Linked DNA regions of Homo sapiens: all the other regions are linked to region 1. Evidence: promoter capture Hi-C in human tissues and cell types (Jung and others, 2019). All regions are on one chromosome and are shown on one strand. Each heading gives the region's core, a stretch centred on a gene start or on the middle of the fragment in contact. The rest is flanking DNA. Distances are from core to core; before and after follow the strand shown.

Evidence for each region. Contacts are between HindIII fragments. The study calls those that stand out against the background at their distance.
Region 2: a contact is called between a fragment that was not itself captured here and the fragment with the promoter of NAA40 in region 1, in 1 of the 25 tissues and cell types used here (hippocampus).
Region 3: a contact is called between a fragment that was not itself captured here and the fragment with the promoter of NAA40 in region 1, in 1 of the 25 tissues and cell types used here (spleen).
Region 4: a fragment that was not itself captured here is called in contact with the fragment with the promoter of NAA40 in region 1 in 1 of the 25 tissues and cell types used here (hippocampus).

The regions. Positions count from the first base shown.
Region 1 is chr11:63,936,768-63,942,295 of GRCh38, reverse strand. It overlaps NAA40 (N-alpha-acetyltransferase 40, NatD catalytic subunit), which reads right to left and starts at 3,294. Exons shown (of 8, transcript NM_024771.4): 1 at 3,194-3,294. The coding sequence starts at 3,199. RefSeq lists silencers at 3,188-3,373, 3,303-3,382, 3,643-3,692 and enhancers at 3,413-3,552, 3,791-4,291. The HindIII fragment of the contact is 10,658 bases long and covers 1-4,860 here.
Region 2 is chr11:63,476,395-63,481,922 of GRCh38, reverse strand. The region is part of intron 3 of PLAAT5 (phospholipase A and acyltransferase 5); the gene reads left to right. Among named protein-coding and RNA genes, the nearest start is that of PLAAT5, 12 kb to the left of the region's middle. The HindIII fragment of the contact is 5,998 bases long and covers 487-5,528 here.
Region 3 is chr11:64,277,021-64,282,548 of GRCh38, reverse strand. All of the region lies in intron 2 of BAD (BCL2 associated agonist of cell death), which reads left to right. It also overlaps a transcript of GPR137 not described here. Among named protein-coding and RNA genes, the nearest start is that of BAD, 4.9 kb to the left of the region's middle. RefSeq lists enhancers at 3,439-3,940, 5,467-5,528. The HindIII fragment of the contact is 6,252 bases long and covers 340-5,528 here.
Region 4 is chr11:63,643,586-63,649,113 of GRCh38, reverse strand. ATL3 (atlastin GTPase 3) reads left to right here. Exons shown (of 13, transcript NM_015459.5): 6 at 2,551-2,607; 7 at 4,853-4,945. The region is part of intron 2 of LNCROPM (lncRNA regulator of PLAAT3 mediated phospholipid metabolism); the gene reads right to left. Among named protein-coding and RNA genes, the nearest start is that of ATL3, 25 kb to the left of the region's middle. The HindIII fragment of the contact is 5,374 bases long and covers 375-5,528 here.

The sequences.
Region 1 (5,528 bases), core at 2,045-4,544:
CCCAGCATGGTAGGTGTGACTACTTCTTTGATGAGAAACCTGAGGCACAGAGAGTTAAGGAACTTGCAGGGTCACAGAGGCGGTGAGGAGAGTTCTCAAAGCGGTCTCTTCCTCCCACTCCCTCCAACTCTCCCCATGAGGTGAGGGTAGATCCGCTTTATCTGGCTATGTTCACCCAGTGCTCACCAAACAGCAGATACTCAGTTCACATCTGCTGAATGAATCATCCAAGATCCAAATCCACGTTTGAACCCTAAAGTCATGCTCCTTCCACCATGTCACAATCACATGTATATGGCATTTTTTGTTATAAAGTGTTACATAAATGTTTCCATGTGCAGTGTAAAACTCTTCCCCTTACTATTCCCATTGAAAAAGTAACTCCACACACAGTTCTACGACTGGAAGGGGTCATAAAGACAAATTAAAAAAAACACACCCAGGCTGGGCGCGGTGGCTCATGCCTATAACCCCAGCACTTTGGGAGGCGGAGGTGGGTGGATTACCTGAGGTCAGGAGTTCAAGACCAGCCTAGCCAACATGGTGAAACCCCGTCTCTACTAAAAACAGAAAAAAGTAGCCAGGCATGATGGTTAATACCTGTAATTCCAGCTACTCGGGAGGCTGAGGCAGGAGAATCACTTGAGCCTGGGAGGCAGAGATTGCAGTGAGCTGAGATTGTGCCACTGCACTCCAGCCTGGGCAAAAAGAGCACAACTCTGTCTAAAAAAAAAAGGAAAAGAAAAGAAAAGAAACATCCAGATGGGAGGAGGAGCCACTTTTCAGAAAAAGAATTTGGCATCTCTTAGATTTTCAGTATCAATGTCTCTACCCCATATACTATCCAATATCCAAAAAGAATCTGTTTTTGGTGAAGCAAGAGAAATATAAATTCTAACTCCTGAAAGATGACACAAATGTGGCAACTAGGACACGTGTGTGGCAACTGAAGAGAAAGCGCTCCATCTGAAGCCTCACTCAGCCTGAGGCCAGGCTCTGCCACAGGGTAACTACAAGGAATGATGACTTCCCCAGCACCCACAGTTGTGGAATGAGGGTGATGAGACGGTTCCAGCTGTTTCAGGGAGGAGAATTCAAGTCTCTCTTACTGTCAATTTTAGGCCAGAAGAGACTTTGTAGGGTCTCATGTGAGAAACACATCTGTAAAGTATAAGATTGAGGCCCTAAAGGAAGCAAGGATCGCAGAATCTCTGGGGCATATTTCTTTTTTCCTTCACCCTGTCTTATGGTGTTGAGGGCCTGCTATTTCAGTCCAACCAACGAGGAAGTGTTGAACTAGAACGGCATGTTACACTTCTTGTTTTCTGCTTAATCCGCAGTGGCTGCTTCTGGTTAGACAGTTACTAAGGGACACAGGTTTCATTTAGTTTCAACAATGGCTGTGTCTAGGACCTTTCACCAAAATTTAGGTTAAATATGCCTAAGGTCTCTAGACTTGGTTTTCTACATATGAAGTACGTAATACCCAAAACTATTTGTTAAAACACGATGACTGTTTTGACACGGATTAGACAACTATTTTTGTCTAATAAGTTGATTTGTTCAGTCGATAAATAGTGGAGTGACGGGAAAAAAAAAAACTAGGTTAACAACAGTAGGGACAAACCCAATGGGTTAAAAATAGCACAAATCCATTTTAGATCAGTAAAGTTAAGGCTGAGGATACAGACAAAAATAACAGCCACTACTTAGGAGACACCTCCTTAGCAATCTACATCCATTATCTCACTTAATCTTCACTACTACCCTAAGGGGGAGGTATTAGCATCCCAATTACAGAGGTGAGGAAATTCAAACACATAAAGGCCAACTCACTGGCACACTATTATACCACCAGCAGCGAAGACGGGGCTGGAAGTGAGGTACCTCGGGCTCCAAAGTCAGGGTTCCCTTAAGGTGATGGAAATTCCATGTAAATACTAATATAGGCCTGTGTGGTGGCTCACGCCTGTAATCCCAGCACTTTGGGAGGCCTAGGCGGGTGAATCACGAGGTCAGGAGTTCGAGACCAGCCTGGCCAACGTGGTGAAACCCTGTCTCTACTAAAAATACAAAAATGAGCCGGGCATAGTAGCGGGCGCCTGTAATCCCAGCTGCTGGGGAGGCTGAGGCAGGAGAACCGCTTGAACCCAGAAGAAGGAGGATGCAGTGAGCCGAGATCGCGCCATTGCACTCCAGCTTCGGCGACAAGAGCAAAACTCCATATCAAAAAAAAAAAAAAAAAAAAAAAAAAAGAATACAGCCAATACTAGGAAAAGCGTTATCTTTTTAGGAGGGTGACTGATACTGCTGTAATTGAGACTTAGTAAGGTGAACGCACAGAAACTTGCAAATAACTTCTGCCCTACCCTATATCCCGGGAAAGTAAACTAAAATGCACCTCCAGGCTGCCGGCACGGAACAAGTGGTCAATATCCATCCGCGGCTGGGCCGCCGCCCCCGCCTCCCCGCATCTTCCCCGCACACCTGCACAGCCCTCCCCTTGCAAAAAACACCTGCACTACCAAAACCCCTAACAACCCAAGCGGTCGTAAGAACCATTTCATTGCAACCAGGAGGCGTCGAAGGCAGGAGTCTATGGGAAAGGAAGGCTGTGTTTATCAGGAGCAGCAGGAACCTGGTGGAGAGGTTTCGAAAGAGTGTAGGGGAACCGGCTTCGCTGAGACTCGAGTAACGGGAAGGGCAGTGGACTGGGATTCGGGAGGCCCAAGGTGGGGTCTGACGCCCCCGACAATATGACCTTGGCTAGGCGCCTTCTTTCCTCTGGGCCTCAATTCCCTCCAAGCCAGGGTTGACCTCGGATGTGAAAAGCGACGAAGCTGGTGACAGCCAGGTGATGAGTGACCCTGGGGGAGCGGGAAGCTAACCCCAGGGTCCCCGCGGGGGACGGTGGTGGGGAGGCCAGTAACGGGTCCGCGAAGCAGGAAGGGGCGGGCGTGACGCTGGGGGCGCCGAGGGGGTGGGGCCCCGGACCAGGGGCTCTCCAGAGGATTCCCGGGCTAGGCCTAGCGTAGGGACCCTTAGAATGGGGGAGTCGGGTCATGTGGGGGTCAGGGGTCACGTGAGGCTGGAGGGGGTCGGGGTCACGTGAGAGGGGGGTTTAAGAACAAAGGGGGCGAGGGTAGCGAGGAGCGCCCCTGGACCTCCCATCTCCTCTCTCTGCCTCACTCACCCCCATAGCGGCGGCGACAACGCTCAGCTTCTTCTTCACACACTTGCCGGCAGGGAGGCGGCAACGGCGGTGGCTGCAACAGCGGCGGCAGCAGAGCGGACGGCCCTGCAACGCGCATGCGCCTCGCAGCTTCCCCCCCCCCCCCCGCCCAACCGCGCGCCCTCGTACCGCGCCGGCGCAGAACCGGCGCAGGGCAGCGGTGAGCCGGCGCGCAGGTGGAGCGCCCGCTAGGCTGGCCGAGGGTCTCCGACCAGGAGGAGGCGGGAGCGCGGAGGAGCGTCGCGCCGGGAATGACGTGCGGCCAGAGCCCGCCCCCTCGCAGGGCTGCGTCTGTAACTATGGCAACGGCGGCGCCAGGCCTGGCTGCTCACCCAGGCCGTGAGTCGCGCGCCGCTGGGGGCCGGGTGGTTGGCAGCACCTCCCCTGCGGCCAGCGACTCCTTGGCCCCGCGCGTAGCAGCCGGCGGCACAGCCACCTTCCCAGGCGGCCAATCGCGTCTCGACCTCTAAAGTACCTGCCCCTCCAGAGCCCTAGCGCGCGTAGCGGAAGTCTTTGGAAACTTTCCCACCTTCCAGATCTTGACTCTTGAAATTCCTTTTCTAACCAGAGTCCTGTTACTCATTCATTCGTCTTCTAACCATTCATTCCCCCTCATTCATTCACGTTCTCAATAAAAATTAACTCGCATCTACGCGGTGCTGAGCCCAGGGGGCACAGAGAGGAGCGAGGTGCCATCTCAGCGCCACACCTCAGGGTTTAGAGGGGAGACGGGCACGTAAGCACTGTTTAGGAGAGAGTGGACAGTGCTGTTAGCGTGAACACCAGGCATCCCGGAAAGTTTTAATTTCAACCCATCCCCAGCACACCGGAGTGACCCGCACGTGACCCGAATCCAAACCGCCGGGGGCGCTTCCGCAGTGTGCACACCTCTGCCAACCTCCCCCAGAATCTCCAGGGGTGGAGCCAGAGTCTTCACTTCCTAGTGCTCCCCAGGTAGGGAGCGAAAATTAGTGAAATGCTTCAAGACGAAAATTAGTGAAATGCTGCCCAACACTTAAGCTTCATGGACTTTTTCAGGTTTTGCTCATTATTCCATCTTTTTGTTTTTTTAAGAGACAGGGTCTCGCGGTCGCCCAGGCTGGAGTGCAGTGGTGCAATCACAGCTCACTGCAGCCTCGACCTCCTGGGCTCAAGCGATCCTCCCGCCTCAGCCTCCTGAGTAGCTGGGACTACAGGTGTGCACTACCATACGCAGCTCAATTTTTATTTATTTTTTGTTGAGATGGGGTCTCACTGTGTTACACAGACTGGTCCCAAACTCCTGGGCCCAAGCGATCCTCCCACTTTGGCCTCCCAAAGTGCTAGGATTACAGGCGTCAGCCACTGTGCTTAGCCTCATTATTCCAACTTTAGTGCTCAGTACAGTGGTGGCCTCAACAACATTTATCCAGTGCCTACTGTATGCTAGGCACTGTTCCAAGCAGCAAGGAAAACAACAATAAGAAACAGAATAGGCACCACCCTTGTATCCTAGAAGGAGGAGACCGATAATAGATGAAATAAATAGGTAATATACATAGTTAGTTAAATGATACAGGCTCGGCCGGGCGCGGTGGCTCACGCCTGTAATCCCAGCACTTTGGGAGGTAGAGGCGGGCGGATCACGAGGTCAGGAGATCGAGACCATCCTGGCTAACACAGCGAAACCCCGTCTCTACTAAAAAAATACAAAAAATTAGCCGGGCAGGGTGGCGGGCACCTGTAGTCCCAGCTACTCGGGAGGCTGAGGCAGGAGAATGGCGTGAACCCGGGAGGCGGAGCTTGCAGTGAGCCGAGATTGTGCCACTGCACTCCAGCCTGGGCGACAGAGAGAGTCTCAAAAAAAAAAAAAAATGATACAGGCTCTAGAAGGAAGAAAAAGCAGGGAGAGAGCACAGGGAAGGTCAAGATTTATAGTTGTGGCCTGGCGCAGTGCCTCACACCTGTAATCCCAACACTTTAGGAGGCTGAGATGGGCGGACTGCTTGAGCTCACGACTTTGAGACCAGCCTGGGCAACAGAGTAAGATCCTGTCTCTGCAAAAAAATTTAAAAATAAAAAAAAATTAGCCAGGCGTGGTGGCGTGTACTTGTGGTCCCAGCTACTCTGGAGGCTGAGGTTAGAGGATTGCTTGAGCCCGGGAGGTGAAGGTTGCAGTGAGCCGATAGCGCCACTGAACTCCAGCCTGGGTAACAGAGCCAGACTCGGTCTCAAAAAAAAATAAAATAAATAAAAGCTTGGCGCAGTGGCTCACACCTGTAATCCCAGCACTTTGGGAGGCCGAGGCAGGCAGATC
Region 2 (5,528 bases), core at 2,236-4,735, 460 kb after region 1:
CCGCTCCCCCTACCCCACAACAGTCCCTGGTGTGTGATGTTCCCCTTCCTGTGTCCATGTGTTCTCATTGTTCAGTTCCCACCTATGAGTGAGAACATGCGGTGTTTGGTTTTTTGTCCTTGCGATAGTTTGCTGAGAATGATGGTTTCCAGCTTCATCCATGTCCCTACAAAGGACATGAACTCATCATTTTTTATGGCTGCATAGTATTCCATGGTGTATATGTGCCACATTTTCTTAATCCAGTCTATCATTGTTGGACATTTGGGTTGGTTCCAAGTCTTTGCTATGATTATTTTTTTCTTTGTCAGATAGGAGGCCTTAGAAAATAGGAGTTTCTCTAAGTGGGCACCTGTTTCCGGGAGAAGGGCCAGAGCTGGGTTGCCAGCCTGTGCAGATGTACGGGGAGCTTTGAAATGAACATTTATTCTAAAGGGACAAACAGAATTCAGAAGGTTGATTATTATTATTATTATTATTTTTGAGATGGAGTCTTGCTCTGTCACCCAGGCTGGAGTGCAATGGCACGATCTTGGCTCACTGCAACCTCCATCTCCCAGGTTCAAGTGATTCTCCTGCCTCAGCCTCCCCAGTTGCTGGGATTACAGGCATGTGCCACCATGTCTCACTAATTTTTGTAGTTTTAGTAGAGGAGGGGTTTTGCCATATTGGCCAGGCTGGTCTTGAACGCCTGAGCTCAGGTGATCCACCTGCCTCAGCCTCCCACAGTGCTGGGATTATAGGCGTGAGCCACCACACCCAGCCCAGAAGGTTGATTATTAAGCTATTCAAGGAGATACCAGAGAAAGGTGAAAACCAAGTTAAAGCAATTTTTTAAGACAATACAGCATATGGATGAAAAATGCTCCAGAAAAATAGAAATTATAAATTAAAAGCACAACTTATGGAAATGAAAGACACACTTAGAGATATACAAAATGCATGGGAAATAGAACTGAACAAGTATTAATAAAAGAAAGAGCTTGAAGACAAGGCTTTCGAATTAATCCAATCACACAAAGGCAAACAGGGCAGCAAAATCTTCACCTAGAATTGAAGGTACCAGCATCAACTGGGATTGGAGGCGGCTCTGTAGCATACAGACAGCTACTCTGTGGCTCATGAAGTTAGCAGAACTTCATGAAATGCTGGAGAGATGTTAAAGAAAAGAAAAAGGGAAGGATGGGACTGTAGAAAAGACCCCAGTATAACCGCAACCTTGGCTGCACCTTAAACTCACCTAAGGAGCTTTTAAAACTCTGGCACCCAGGCTATACTCCAGACCAATCTGAACTTTTTAAAGCTCCACAGGCGATTTCAATTTGTAACCAAGGCTGAGAATCAATACTCAATATAATCGATTTACAGTGGGAGGAAATTTAACAAGAGAGTGGATAACTGTTAAGTCTCTGTGAATCCCATTTAGTTTTATACCTTACTACCTCATCCAGTGGCAATATTGCAGATGAGAGAGTATTAAAATGCAAAAGAAAATACTTAAAATTCCAAAATTCCCTCCTCTTTCCTTCTCCAATCCCTGAGCCTTCTGTTTTCTGTACCACAAAGCTTGTTCGACATCCTTGATGAACAGAACTTGGGTTTTCTGAGCTTTCTTCTGGCTTAGATTGGCCTCACAATGAATTGGGTTATCTTCTTGCTGTCAGTTTTCCAGGAAACAACAACAAGGATTTGATTGATTGCTTGTTTGTTGTCATAGGGAATGACCTAGCCATGTTGAGTGGGAAGTAACTGGCTATTTGGTTGGTGGGGAAATATGTCCAAGGTGGAGGGATGGTGAAGAACGGACCGCATGTTCCTACAAAGAACAGACGTGACCGTCCAGCTGGCTTGGCCGACTCTGAGAGCCCTGCCCTCCACTAGATATGGTGGATGGTGGGTGAAAGGCATTGGTTAGGACTCTAAGGTATTGGGGTCTGTGGTCAGGTAGAGTGAGATGGAATCAGGGGTTAGTTCAAGAGTAACATAACGTGTCAAGTGGCTTTCCCTCTGGAGTGACTCAGAAAAACCTGTCCCATAATCTTACTGTTACTGCCATTTCCTTCACCCTGATCAATGCCAGAAATAATAGCCTGAGTTGGATTGATTTGAGCTCTGGCGCCTGTTCTTCACTTCTTGTTCATCTTTTGTCCATGGGCATTTCTGTTTTTCTTCCTGACCAGTGTCAGGACTTAGATAGTAATGGTCCTTAGATTACTGTAACAGTGAGGATGGGCCTATGGGGTCTCCTGTGTCATGTGTGTATAATAGCAGAAATGGCCTCAGCTTAGCACATATGTTCATATAAAGAAATTAGGCTAAATAACTTCTCTTCCTCTCTCATTTACCTATGTCTGAAAGGAAAAAATAATTAGACAATCTATGAATCAAAAATCTGTATATACCTAAATTATAAATTAAAGGCAATTTAACTGTTTACCTGCATCTGCACATGCAAATGTTGAACCTGACTTGATTTTTTAAAATGAGCTTCAAAATATTTAAACTTCAGACTTTCTTATGAACATTTTAAAACAGTTTCTCTGATCCTTTGCCATTTATGAAGACAGAGGCATCTGCTTAAAGCAATATAGTCTTATTACTATCTGAATCACAAAGAAAATACTATTTGCTATTGTTCCTTTTTAGTCTTCTTCAAAGGACGAGAAAGAGCTCTCCTCCACTTTGCCTTTCTTCACTTACTCTCTTGGCTGCTTTCTGCTCCTCTGTATCCATCTACATCACTCACATGCTGTCTTCCCAACTCGTAGCACTCAACCTCTTCTGTATACTACCGGCTTCCGGGATTTATGGTGGGGGATATCCCTACTGCTTTCCCTGGGCTTATGGCAAAAGAAAATGAAGTCCAGTTTGAAGTCTCCTGCAATATCATTCTGCTTTCTGGGTGAGAAGCCTGGTATGGGGAGCCCTCTAGTGGATATGTGGCTGCCATTACATTTTCCCTTTAAGGCAGAAGAAAGAGTTGGTTTGTTGGCAGGGGCAAGGGAGTAGTTCTGGTCCTAGCTCGACCATGGACTTGCTGTGGGACTTTAGACAAAGCACTTCCTCTCTCTTGGCCTCAGTTCCTTCCATGAAATATTGTAGTGTATACTGTTTGCTTTGTGCCCACAAAAACTCATTGCTGCAAGTGGGCAGGACTTGTGGAATGGCTGAGTGCAGATCTCAGCAAATCCTCTTTTCCCAAAACAATTATGAAGCCAGACAAAATTGCCAAAGACAGTCATTTAAAGACTGGAAATTTGACCAAAGCCATACAACAGATTGAGAAGGGTTAATTTAAGAAAGTCCATCCGTGGTCGGGCGTGGGCTCACGCCTGTAATCCCAGCACTTTGGGAGGCCAAGGCGGGCAGGTCAGGAGATTGAGACCATCCTGGCTAACACGGTAAAACCCCGTCTCTACTAAAAATACAAAAAATCAGCAGGGCGTGGTGGCGCGAGCCTGTAGTCCCAGCTACTCGGGTGGCTGAGGCAGGAGAATCCCTTGAAACCAGGGAGGCGGAGGTTGCAGTGAGCTGAGATCGCGCCACTGCACTCCAGCCTGGGTAACAGAGCAAGACTCCGTCTAAAAAAAAAAAAAAGAAAGTCTATTGGTTCTCAGAAAGAACAGTGGAAGTCTGTAGTGTTTTAGCATTGCCCCTTCACCTCCAGCTCTGCGGTTGTGGTAAGGAAGTTCTATCCAGGTGGGTGGGGCTTGTGGGAGGGAATGGCGTGGCAGCAGAGGGTGACTGACTTTACTTCCATGCCCAGGGTTGTTGAAAACAAGAGTTATCTCAGTGACAATCATGGAAGACCAAAATTGCAGCTAGCTTGAGGTTGCAGTACTGGTTAGGACAAGCAATAGGCCAACAGGCCTGCCAAAAATTTAACATGGAAATCCAGGTAATGATACAACTAAAGAGGGTCTTGAAAAGCTGCCACATGTGTCTGGTGGTCTAGAAGGTATGCACAAGGCTGCATACACATTCACATTCAGGACAGACTGGAGACTCATAAAAATCTGGAACTTTGAATGAATTCTCCAAGCCACACAGAGATCCACTGACAAAAGGTAAAGCCTTCGCGGCACAAGGTGTGGCTCAACTTCTGGCCATTAAGCTATGCCGATCTAGGAAGCCAGGCTTAAAAACAAGAAGCCGGGCACTGTGGCTCACGCCTGTAATCCCAGCACTTTGGGAGGCTGATGTGGGCGGATCATGAGGTCAGGAGTTCGAGACCAGCCTCGCCAACATGGTGAAACCCTGTCTCTACTAAAATACAAAAATTAGCTGTGCATGGTGGCAGGCACCTGTAATCTCAGCTACTCAGGAGGCTGAGGCAGGAGAATCGTTTGAACCTGGAAGGCGGAGGTTGCAGTGGGCCGAGATCACACCATTGCACTCCAGCCTGGGCGACACGGCGAGACTCTGTCTCAAAAAAATAAATAAAAATAAAAACAAGAAAAAAACTCTAAGCAGATATCTCAGTGGTTACATGCTGTGAGACAAACAGACATCACAGAATCAGTCCAGGTGGGTCACTAAACAAACAACAAACAAACAAGCAAACAGCAACAACCGTCCGCCCTGGTTGGGTGGGGAAGGAGATCAGAGCCCACAGTTGCTACGGTATGTTACCTAGAACGTCCAGTTTTTCAACAACAAATTATGAGACCTGCAAAGAAACAGGAAAGAGGGACCCATACACACAAAAACAGTAGAGACTGTTTCCTAGTGGGCCTACATGTTGCATGTAGCAAATACTTCTAAACTGCTATTTTGAGTATATTTAAAGAAGTAAATAAAATCAAGTTTAAAGAATTAAAGGAAAGTGGAATGACAATGACCGATCAAATATACAATATTAATAAGGAGGTAGAAATGATAAAGAAGCACCAAATGAAAATACTGGGGTTGAAAAACACAATGGCCAAAATAAAACATTCACTAGAGTGATTTAACAGCAAATTTGAGTTACCAAAAAGAAAAAAGAATCAGCAAACTCAAAGATGGATCAACAGCAACTACCTAGTATGAAGAGTAGGAGGAAAAAGAAAAAGAAAAATGAACAGAGCCTCAGAGGCCAAGGAGACACCATTGAGCAAACCAACAAATGTATAATTGGGGTCCCAGAAAGAGAGATGATAAAAAGGCAGAAAAAAATACCTATATAAAAGATAACTGAATACTTTCCAAATTTGATGTAAAACATTAATCTATACACCCAAGAAGCTCTGTGAATACCCAGACATATCATTCAAACAGATGAAAGCCAAACACAAAGAGAGAATCTTGAAAACAGCAAGAGAAAAAAAGACTTATTGTATACAAGAGATGCACAATAAAAAACAATAGTCAACTTTTCATCAGAAACAATGGAGACCAGAAGGCAGTGGGATGACATATTAAAAATGCTGAAAGAAAAAAACCTGTTAACCAATAATTTTGTATCCAGTAATGTATCTTGCAAAAATGAAGGTGAAATAAAGATAGTCCCAGATGAATGGAGAATGAGAGAATTTGTGGCTAGCACA
Region 3 (5,528 bases), core at 2,216-4,715, 340 kb before region 1:
TGCCCAGGCAGGCCTCAAACTCCTGGGCTCAAACGATCCTCCTGCCTCAGCCTCCAGAACAGCTGGGACCACAGGTGCATGCCACCACACCAGCTCATTTTTTATTTTTTGTAGAGGTGGGGTCTTGCTTTGTTGCCCAGTCTTGTCTCGAATTCCTGGGCCCAAGCAATCCTCTCACCTTGGCCTCCCAGACTGTTGAGATTACTGGCGTGAGCCACCATGCTCAGCCTCCACAGCTTTCTTTAACTTCCTGAGCTTGCACTTGGCCATTTTTCTGCTCACAAACTTCCCCTGCTCTCTGCCCCCCACACACACTCAGCATTCACTCGCGCCACACAGTGAGTGCTCACCGTGTGACACAGGCTGTTCCAGTTGCTAGGGGGCCTCGGTGAACCCAAGCGTCAGGAATCCTTGCCCTTGTGGAGCTTACCTTCTAGTGAGCTGGTGGGGCCATGAGCAAACAAGCACAAAAGCATCCTATCATGCGTGAGAAGATTTGTATGGGGGCAGCATGTAAAAGAGTTAAGAGAGGCCGGGCGCGGTGGCTCACGCCTGTAATTCCAACACTTTGGGAGGCCTAGGTGGGCGTATCACAAGGTGAAGAGATGGAGACCATCCTGGCCAACATGGTGAAACCCCATCTCTACCAAAAATACAAAAATTAGCTGGGCATGGTGGCGCGCACCTATAGTCCCAGCTACTCGGGAGGCTGAGGCAGGAGAATCGCTTGAACCCGGGAGGCGGAGGTTGCAGTGAGCCAAGATCGTGCCACTGCACTCCAGCCTGGCGACAGAGTGAGACTCATCTCAAAAAAAAGAGTTAAGAGAATCCGGAGTCACAGGGGCGGGGGGAGTGATGGTAGCAGAGGTGGTCAGCACTCACCTTGGTGAGAAGCACCACTGGAGCCAAGGCCACAGGGATGATGGGAAGAGAGTTCCAGGCAGAGAGAAGGGCAGATGGTAAGGCCTCGAGGGCAACACCTGCTCCTGGCTAGGGTGGGCCTAGGGGAGGGGGTTTAGGAAAGGGTATTTGGAGACCTAAAGTTGAAGGTCATTCTAAGGACTCTGGCATTGCCTTTGAGTAAAAACCTGGAAAGGATTTGAGCAGAGGCAGCATGGTCAGATTTAGACATTCAGAGAGTCACCAGGGAGGTGGTGAGAAGTAGCTGATCCCTGGATTTATTTTTAAAGCAGAACTGGCAGGATCTGCTGATGGACTGGATGTGGGGTGCGAGGGAAAGAGAGGAGTCAGGATGATGCCAAGGAATTTTAAAAAAACTATTAGGCTGGGCGCGGTGGCTCACGCCTATAATCCCAGCACTTTGGTAGTTCGAGGTGGGCAGATCATGAGGTCAGGAGATAGAGACCATTCTGGCTAACACGGTGAACCCCGTCTCCACTAAAAATACAAAAAATTCTCTGGGCGTGGTGGTGGGCGCCTGTAGTCCCAGCTACTCTGGAGGCTGAGGCAGGAGAATGGCGTGAGCCCGGGAGGCGGAGCTTGCAGTGAGCAGAGATTGCACCACTGCACTCCAGCCTGGGTGACAGAGCAAGATTCCGTCTCAAAAAAAAAATTATTATTGGCCGGGCGTGGTGGCTCACACCTGTAATCCCAGCACATCGGGAGGCTGAGGCAGGCAGATCACTTGAGGTCAGGAGTTCAAGAACAGCCTGGCCAACTTGGTGAAATCCTGTCTCTACTACAAATACACAAATTAGCTGGATGTGGTGGTGGGCGCCTGTAATCCCAGCTACCTGAGAGGCTGAGGCAGGAGAATCACTTGAACCCAGGAGGTGGAGGTCGCAGTGAGCTGAAATCCTGCCACTGCACTCCAGCCTGGGTGACAGAGCAAGAGTCCGTCTCAAAAAACAAAAAATAAATAAAAATAAAATAAATTAGGCCAGGCGCGGTGGCTCACGCCTGTAATCCCAGCACTTTGGGAGGCCGAGGCGGGCGGATCACGAGGTCAGGAGATCAAGACCATCCTGGCTAACACGGTGAAACCCCGTCTCTACTAAAAATACAAAAAATTAGCCGGGCGTGGTGGTGGGTGCCTATAGTCCCAGCTACTCGGGAGGCTGAGGCAGGAGAATGGCATGAACCCGGGAGGCAGAGCTTGCAGTGAGCCGAGATGGTGCCACTGCACTCCAGCCTGGGCGACAGAGCAAGACTCCGTCTCAAAAAAAAAAATTATTATTATTATTATTATTATTATTTTATTTTATTTTTGACATGGAGTCTTGCTCTGTCGCCCAGGCTGGAGTGCAGTGGCACCATCTCAGCTCACTGCAAGCTCTGCCTCCCGGGTTCACGCCATTCTCCTGCCTCAGCCTCCAGAGTAGCTCGGACTACAGCCTCCCGCCACCATGCCCAGCTAATTTTTTTGTGTGTTTTTAGTAGAGATGGGGTTTCACCATGTTAGCCAGGATGGTCTCGATCTCCTGACCTTGTGATCCGCCCGCCTTGGCCTCCCAAAGTGCTGGGATTACAGGCGTGAGCCACCGCGCCTGGCCAAATTATTATTAATTTTAGAGACAAGGTCTTGCTATGTTGGCCAGGCTGGTCTTGAGCTCCTGGCCCCAAGTGATCCTCCCACCTTGGCCTCACAAAGTGCTGGGATTACAGGCATGAGCCACAGTGCCCAGCCAACACCAAGGAATCTGGCTTGAGCACCCGGTAGGATGAAGTTGCTTTTAATGGAGAAGAAACACTGAAGGGTGAGGGAGGATCTGGAGGCTACCCTAGAGGGTGGGATAGAGGGGGATTTTTTTTTTTTTTTTTTTTTTGAGATAGAGTCTTACTCTGTCACCCAGGCTGGAGTGCAGTGGCACGATCTCGGCTCACTGCAACTTCCACCTCCTGGGTTCATGCCATTCTCCTGCCTGAGCCTCCCCAGTAGCTGGGATTACAGGCATGCACCATGCCCAGCTAATTTTTGTGTTTTTAGTGGAGACGGGGGTTTCACCATGTTGGCCAGGCTGGTCTCGAATTCCTGACCTCGTGATCCACCCGCCTCAGCCTCCCAAAATGCTGGGATTACAGGCATGAGCCACCGCGTCTGGCCGCTAGAGGTGGCTTTTAAGCATCTGGTGGGATTTTTAGCAGGGTGCTAGTGGGAGCTGGCAGGGACTTGGAGTCTGAACCAGAGTTGTGCTTGTCTCAGTCCAGTTAGGGGTAGGGGCTTCAGGTGTGTGCAAAGGAAGGAATGGTAGATGTGGGGTCCAAGCTGGCTGAGCTTCAGGGAAGGGAGCAAGCCCTGGGAAGCCGCAGCATCGTTGGAGTTGGGGTCCCGGGGGCATGATCCACACAGGTTGGGTCAGCTGGTGGGAAGCTTGGGATGGAGTTATTTGATGGTGACAAGGCCTAGGTTATGTCCCTGGGAATGAGTCTGAGGGGAGAGTGGGACAAGATCATGGTAGAAGGAGTAGCAAGGTACAGAAAGGAGACAGGGTGCTGGTGGAGTGGCAGAGGACAGGAGTAACATTCTGCACAGGCCAGGGACGACACCTCCCCCCAGCCCCAGCTGCAGACCCGTAGGAAAGAGGGCTGCGGGAGAAGACAGCTGCCAGGTGAGGACAGAGCTGGATTTCTTAACCTTTTGATTTAGTTTTCAGTGTCTCCAAAAGCAAGTGGTTTCCCAGAAAAGATCAGCAAGTGCCAGTGCCCCGCCAGAGCCACGGGGCCTCTGCCCTCTCTACCTGCGCAGAGCAACTCACACTTGGTTCGGTCACTCCTCATAGTCCCTGCCACCAGGCCCCCCTGCTGGATGGCTGAGGTGTCCCCAGGGCAGGGACTGCAGCCACCTTGTGCTGTGACAGCCCACACAGCCCAGTGTCTGAAACAGGTGTGGACAGTGGAGAGGCAGAAAGAAGCAGCCCAGTGCTAGCCCCTGGGCCAGACTGCAGGGTTCAAACGTGGCTCTACCCTTCCTAGCAGGTTGAGCTTGAGCAGGTTAATTAACTCCATCTGCCTGAGTTTCCTCATCTGTAAACGGGAATAGAACTAGTCCCACCTCGCAGGGCTGTGGCGAGGACCTGATGAGTTAATATAGGAAAAGTGCTTGGAAACAGTGCCTGGCGCAGAGGAGGGGCTAAGTGTTTGCGGCTCTTATTATTAGAACTGCCATTGTTATTATTTATGTATATATATATTTATATATAAATATATATATATAATTTTTTTTTCCAAGATGGAGCCTCACTCTGTCGCCCAGGCTGGAGTGCAGTGGTGCAATCTCGCCTCGCAGCAACCTCTACCTCCCAGGTTCAAGTGATTTTCTTGCCTTTATGTACATTCTTGGCTTTATATATTTATAAAGCCTCAAATTTCTGGGCTCCAGCCATCCTCCCACCTCAGCTTCCTAAGTAGCTGGGACTACAGGCGCACGCCACCATGCCTGGCTAATTTTTTTATTTTAATTTTTGTAGAGACAAGGGTCTTTCTGTGTTGCTCAGGCTGGTCTCGAACTCCTGGCCTCAAGCAGTCCTTTTGCCTTGGCCTCCCAAAGTGTTGGGATTACAGGCATGAGCCACCACATTGGGCCTATATTTTTAAGTTATGGACAAAAATCCAAAGAACTATATTTTGTAACGTGAACATTCTATGAAATTCAAATTTCAAGGTCCCTAAAGAAAGTGTTAGTGGAACACAGCAAGGTGCAGTGTATTCATTTACACATTGATTATGGTTTCCTTTCAGCTCTGGCCACAAAGGTGAGTGGTTGTCACAGAGACCACGTGGCCCACTGAACCCCCTTTATAGAAAACATTTTCAGCTAACTTAGGAAAAGGGAAAAGAAAGTGAACAAACATTTGCCAGCCAGCCTTTCATACCTGTAATCCCAGCACTCTGGGAGGCCAAGGCAGGAGGATCACTTGAGCTCAGGAGTTCGAGACCAGCCTGGGCAAGATGGCAAGACACTTCTCTAAAAATTTTTTAAATTAAAAAATTAGCCGGGCATGGTGATGCCTGTAGTCCAAGCTACTCAGGAGGCTGAGGTGGGAAGATCGATTGCGCCTAGGATTTTGAGGCTGCAGTAAGCTGAGATCGTGCCACCCCACTCCAGTCTGGGTGACAGAGAGAGACCCTGTCGCTGTTTTTTAAAAACAAAAAGGAAACATTTGCCAACTTTAGAGTACTTTCTGATTTTATGAGCTCTGAGCAAGGTTGGGGGTGTTCTCTGCAGGCCTGAAGGGGCTTCTGTACCGGAAGGCTATAGTCAAGGCTGAGGCCTACAGGTGCCGGAGGCGGACAGGCTGCGAGTGTCTGCCCAGGGTGGGGTGGCAGCACTGGCCACTGTGCTGGCCACTGACGTCAGCCTCCCCCGGCAGCAGATTGTGTGTGGTCGGCATGTGGTAGGGGCAGGATCCAAACCCAGCCCTTGCCTGATGGCAGAGCTTCACTGCTCCAAACGGTCTGGAACACCACTGTTTTAATTAAGTGTGCAATTCAGTGTGCAAGTGTCTTGTAATTAAGTGTGCCTCTGTTTCCTCATCTATAAAACAGGGAGAACTTCGTATTCTCCTTCT
Region 4 (5,528 bases), core at 1,812-4,311, 290 kb after region 1:
TCCCTCAGTTGCCCAGGCTGGAGTGCAGTGGCACGATCTTGGCTCACTCACTGCAATCTCCGCCTCCCAAGTTCAAGTGATTCTGCTGCCTTAGCCTCCTGAGTAGCTGGGACTGCAGGTGCGTGCCACCACACCCGGCTAATTTTTTTTGTACTTTTAGTAGAGACAGGGTTTCACTATGTTGGTCAGAGTGACCTCAAATTCCTAACCTGAAATGATCTGCCTGCCTCAGCCTCCTAAAGTGCCAGGATTACAGATGTGAGCCGCCGTGCCTGGCCTTTTTGTTTTTTTGCTTTTTTTTTTTAGAGACAGAGTCTCACTCTGCTGCCTAGGCTGGAGTGCAGTGGTGCGATCTCGGCTCACTGCAACCTCCACCTCCCGGACTCAAGCAATTCTCCTGCCTCAGCCTCCTGAGAAGCTGGGATTACAGGCATGTGCCACCATGCCCAGCTAATTTTTGTATTTTTAGTAGAGACAGGGTTTCGCCATGTTGGCCAGGCTGGTCTCGAACTCCTGACCTCAAGTGATCTCCCTGCCTTGGCCTCCCAAAGTGCTGGGATTAGAGCGGCCAGCCCTGCTAAGAGGCTTTTCTCAAATGTCTAGCTGGTGGTCCTTGACTACCTATTTAAGAGAGAGCCACTAACAATCCAACTGGGAGCTTTGATAAGAGGATAGGCCTTGTGTACTGGTTTGGATCACAATGAGGTAGGTGGTTTGGCAAGGTTATCTAGCTATTTTGTTGCCAACTCCTAAATGTCTATTTTTTTTGCAGATATTTATTCTTGGGTTGTTAGTTTCCCTGGAAAAAATTTCTTTAAATTCCTGCCTTGGTGGGTAGAAGCTTGCTGTGGCAACCAGTAGGGTGAGAGGGCTAAGGAGTCCCACTGCTCACTATGTGGACTTTGATTTAAGTACCTGTTTGAAGGTAGGAGACTTACTCCTAACCTCAGCTGAGTTTGGTATCTAAGTCTAGATTTTTTTTTGGATTTATCTTCTCCAGATAGTACACTTCCCATCTTCTATGGAGGCAGGAAAAATACGGCAGTTAGAGAGGGGTGCCTGGAAGTGTAGGTACTTTCTCCTAAGACTCACATATTTCCTAGTTGTCAGCTGGACTCCTACACCTCCTCCTGTAAGGTAACTGTATGCTTATAATTTCTGAGCATTTCAGGGATTTCTACTGAGATAATTTGCTTCTTCCTTGTTGGCCCCTGTCTCTTCCAGATTTCTTAGCAGAACAGAGAAAGCCAAAACTTGAGACAGTTCTCATTTGTCTATTTTCCATCCAGAATGTTTTTGACAGGGCTTTTCTGCTGGCTGCTTTGTCCTGTTTATTTATTTACTTTTAAAGTTTGTTTTGTTATGCTTTTAGTGAGGCTTCCTGAAGATTTAGAGGTAAATATACATGTAAACCTTAACCTTAAAGAATTCAGTCATTTGAATGACATAAATATTATGGGCCTAATACTTTTCTTGCTGCTGGAAATCCAGTAGTGCACAAAACAGACAAATATTCCTGCCCTCATGGAGTTTAAATGCTAGTATAAAGACAGATGCAAATCAAATCAAGAAGAGGTATAGTATATTAGATAATGATAAATGTTAAGAAAAAAACTTTTAAGACTGGGTGTGGTGGCTCACGCCTGTAATCCCAGCACTTTGGAAGGCCGAGGCAGGTGGATCACCTGAGGTCAGGAGTTCAAGACCAGCCTGACCAACATGGAGAAACCCCGTCTCTACTAAAAATACAAAATTAGCCAGGTGTGGTGGCACATGCCTGTAATCCCAGCTACCTGGGAGGCTGAGGCAGGAGAATCGCTTGAACCCGGGAGGCGGAGGTTGCGATGAGCCACGCGCCATTACGCTCCAGCCTGGGCAACAAGAGCACAACTCTGTCTCAAAAAAAAAAATTTTTTTTTAAAGACACGAAGTAGGAAATATTATTGGCAAACTTGTAATCTTTTTCGGTAGATGGCCATGGAAGTCTTCACTGAGAAGGAGCTATTTGAAAGACCTTAAGAAGTGAGGGAGCAGATCATGAGGAAATTTGGGAGAAGAACTTATAGTTAGTGGGAGGAGCCAGTACGAAGGTCCTAAGGCAGCGGTGTGCCCCGTGTATTTGAAGAACAGGAAGGAGGGCCAGTGTGGCTGCATCACACTGTAAGGACTGGCTTTAATACTGAATGAGGTTGTGGGGTTTTGAGCAAAGCCATTATATGATCTAACTAACCATATTATAAAAGAGTCAATGTGGCTGCTGTGTTGAGAATAGCCCATAGGGAGGCATGGGCTGAGGCAGTTAGGAGGCTATTGCAGTATTCCAAGCCACATGGAAATAGTGAGTGGCTGGATTCTGGATTTGTTGATGAATTGGGATGTGGGATGTGAGCAGGGAATAACCAAGATGATTTTAAGGTTCATGACTCCTGTGGGCTTTTGAAACTGTAGAAGTCTGGTATCAGTATAAATATAATGAATACTTTGCTAAAAAGGCCATAGAACTATTTTAAGTAATTTTGCTTTACAAACCATAATGCTTCTTTTTTAAAGCTCTTCACAGAATACGGTCGTCTGGCAATGGATGAAATTTTCCAAAAGCCTTTCCAGGTTAGAATATTTATTTTAAATATAATTCATACCTTTGTTTTTGTTTTCACAGATTGGCAAACTACAGCTCATAGGCCAAATCTAGCTTGCCACCTGTTTTTATATGACTTGTGAGCTAAGAATGGTTTTTACATTTTTAAATGGTTGAAAAAAATGAGCAGTACTATTTTATGACACGTAAATTACCTGAAATTCAAGTGTCATTGTCTGTAGGTAAAATTTTAGTGTAACACAGCCATGCTCATTTGTCTTTGTACTGTCTGTGACGGCTTTCCTGCTACAACGGCAGAGTAATCGCTTAAAAAGTAAGCTCTGTGGGTTGGGCGTGGTAGCTTACACCTGTAATCCCAGCACTTTGGGGAGACCCAGGTGGAAGAATTGCTAGAGCCCAGGAGTTTGAGACCAGCCTGGGCAACATAGCAAGACATCTCTTAAAAAAATGGGGGTAGGTACAGTGGCTCATGCCTGTAATCCCAGCACTTTGGGAGGCCAAAGCAGGCAGATCACCTGAGGTCAAGAGTTCGAGACCAGCTTGGCCAACATGGAACCTGTCTCTACTAAAAATACAAAAATCAGCTGGGCGTGGTGGTGGGTGCCTGTAATCTTAGCTACTCAGGAGGCTAAGGCAGGAGAGTCGCTCGAGCCTGGTAGGTGAAGGTTACAGTGAGCCGAGGTCATGCCACTATACTCCAGCCTGGGCGACAGAGCAAGACTTTGTCTCAAAAAAAAAGAAAAAAACAAAAATAAAATAAAATAAAAAGGTCGTGCACGCCTGTAGTCCCAGCTACTCGGTGGGGTTGAGGTAGGAGGATCACTTAAGCCTAGGAGGTCAAGGCTGCAGTGAGCCATGATTGTGCCACTGCACTCCAGCCTGGGTAACAAAGCAAGACCGTCTCAACACAAACACACACATACACACTCACTCACTCTCTGTCTCTCTCTGTCTCTCTCTCTCTCTCTCTCTCTGCAAAAAGTCTTTGCTGACCTATGCCTCAGTTCAGTGTTTCTTGAGAATGAGGAAGCACAGCAGCCTCAGTCAATGGGATTAGAGGTGCTTTCAGTGTGTAAGCCTTATTTCTTTTCTTTTCTAATTTATTTTTTTTTTTTGAGATGGAGTTTCTTTCTAAAATTTTGCCCAGGCTGGAGTGCAGTAGCATGATCTTGGCTCACTGCAACCTCTGCCTCCCAGGTTCAAGCAATTCTCCTTCCTCACCCTCCTGAGTAGCTGGGATTTCAGGCGCCCGGCTAATTTTTTGTATTTTTTGTAGAGATGGGGTTTCATCATGTTGACCGGCTGGTCTCAAACTCCTGAGCTCAGGTGACCCACCTGCTTCGGCCTCCCAGAGTAAAGGGATTATAGGCATGAGCCACGGTGGCTGGCCTTCCTTTCTAATGCTGAAAACAGACCTGATTTTTTTCTTTTTTGGAGACAGAGTCTCGCTCTGTCACCCAGGCTGGAGTGCAGTGGCGTGATCTCGCCTCACTGCAACCTCCTCCTCCTGGGTTCAAGTGATTCTCCTGCCTCAGCCTCCCAAGTAGCTGGGATACAGGCGTGAGCCACTGTGCCCGGCCACAGATCTGATTTTATGATTAGCTGGTGCCATGTGGTTTTCTCTTTTGTCCTTTACTGTATTCCCCATAGATTTCTTTAAGGCAGAGTCCCAAATTTACCATTTTCTCATTAATGTCTTCCTTCTGTTCCTACTAACCTGTGGGAACAAAAATAGCAGATAGGATATATTGACCTCATATTTGGCTTAAACATGTCCCTCCAGTGTTTGTAAAACTTCTAAGACATTACAGAATAGATAAATCTGGCCGGGTGTGGTGGCTCACACCTGTAATCCCAGCACTTTGGGAGGCCAAGGCCACAGGATTGCTTGAGGCCTAGAGTTCAAGACCAGCCTGGGCAACAGAGCAAGACCTTGTCTATATAAAAAAATTAAAAAATAAGCCAGGAGTAGTGGCATGTGCTTGTAGTCCCGGCTACTTGGGAGGCTGAGGTGAAAGGATCACTTGAGCCCAGGAATTCTAGGCTACAGTGAGCTATGATCATGCCACTGCACTCTAGCCTTAGTGACGGAGCAAGGCCCAATCTCTTTAAAAAAAAAAAAAAAAAAAAAAGGTAAATCCTTCTACTTTACCCCCTTTGTAGAAGCTGGCATTATGCAAAGATGTATTGCAGTTGTTCTCTTGAAAATGTGTTTATGCATGTTAAAATATGTTCCGCTCTTTTCTTAAATAGACACTGATGTTTTTGGTTAGAGATTGGAGTTTCCCTTATGAATATAGCTATGGACTCCAAGGAGGAATGGCATTTTTGGATAAGCGTTTACAGGTAAGTGGGACTATAATCTTCTGATGAATTATCTCAAAGTAGTGATAGCTTTCTCATTTGCTTTTGGCTATTGTGTTTAAAGCAATTATTGAAAATGATATTGAATACATTAACTATATATGAATCTTAACACAAGCTAATATTTATTCTTGACAAGATTAAAGAACCTGTATATACAGTACACAGGAACTGTAGAAGAAAACTCTGGGCCAGTGCCCAAGCTTTGATTATAATTTCCATTTTACATTTTAAACCAAGTTCTATATGTGTCTTTAGAAATCATACTCAGAATTTTAGTTATGTTATTCTTCAAAATTTTTACTTATTTTGGGATAGATATAAACAGGCCTAACCTGTTCCCCCAAACCAAAACACAGGAATCCTTTGTCTGTCACTACTAATTGGTTAGATCCTCCTTCATCCCCACAAACCATCTCTTGTGTAATACTCATTTTAATGAAACTCTTATGCACCTGTTTGCTAGCTATAGGAGTCAAGCCGTAGGTAATCAGATTTGTGTGTTTATTGCTTCTTAGGGTTCTGAGTTTTCTCATTTGGCCACTATGATCCATCAGAGTTGAGG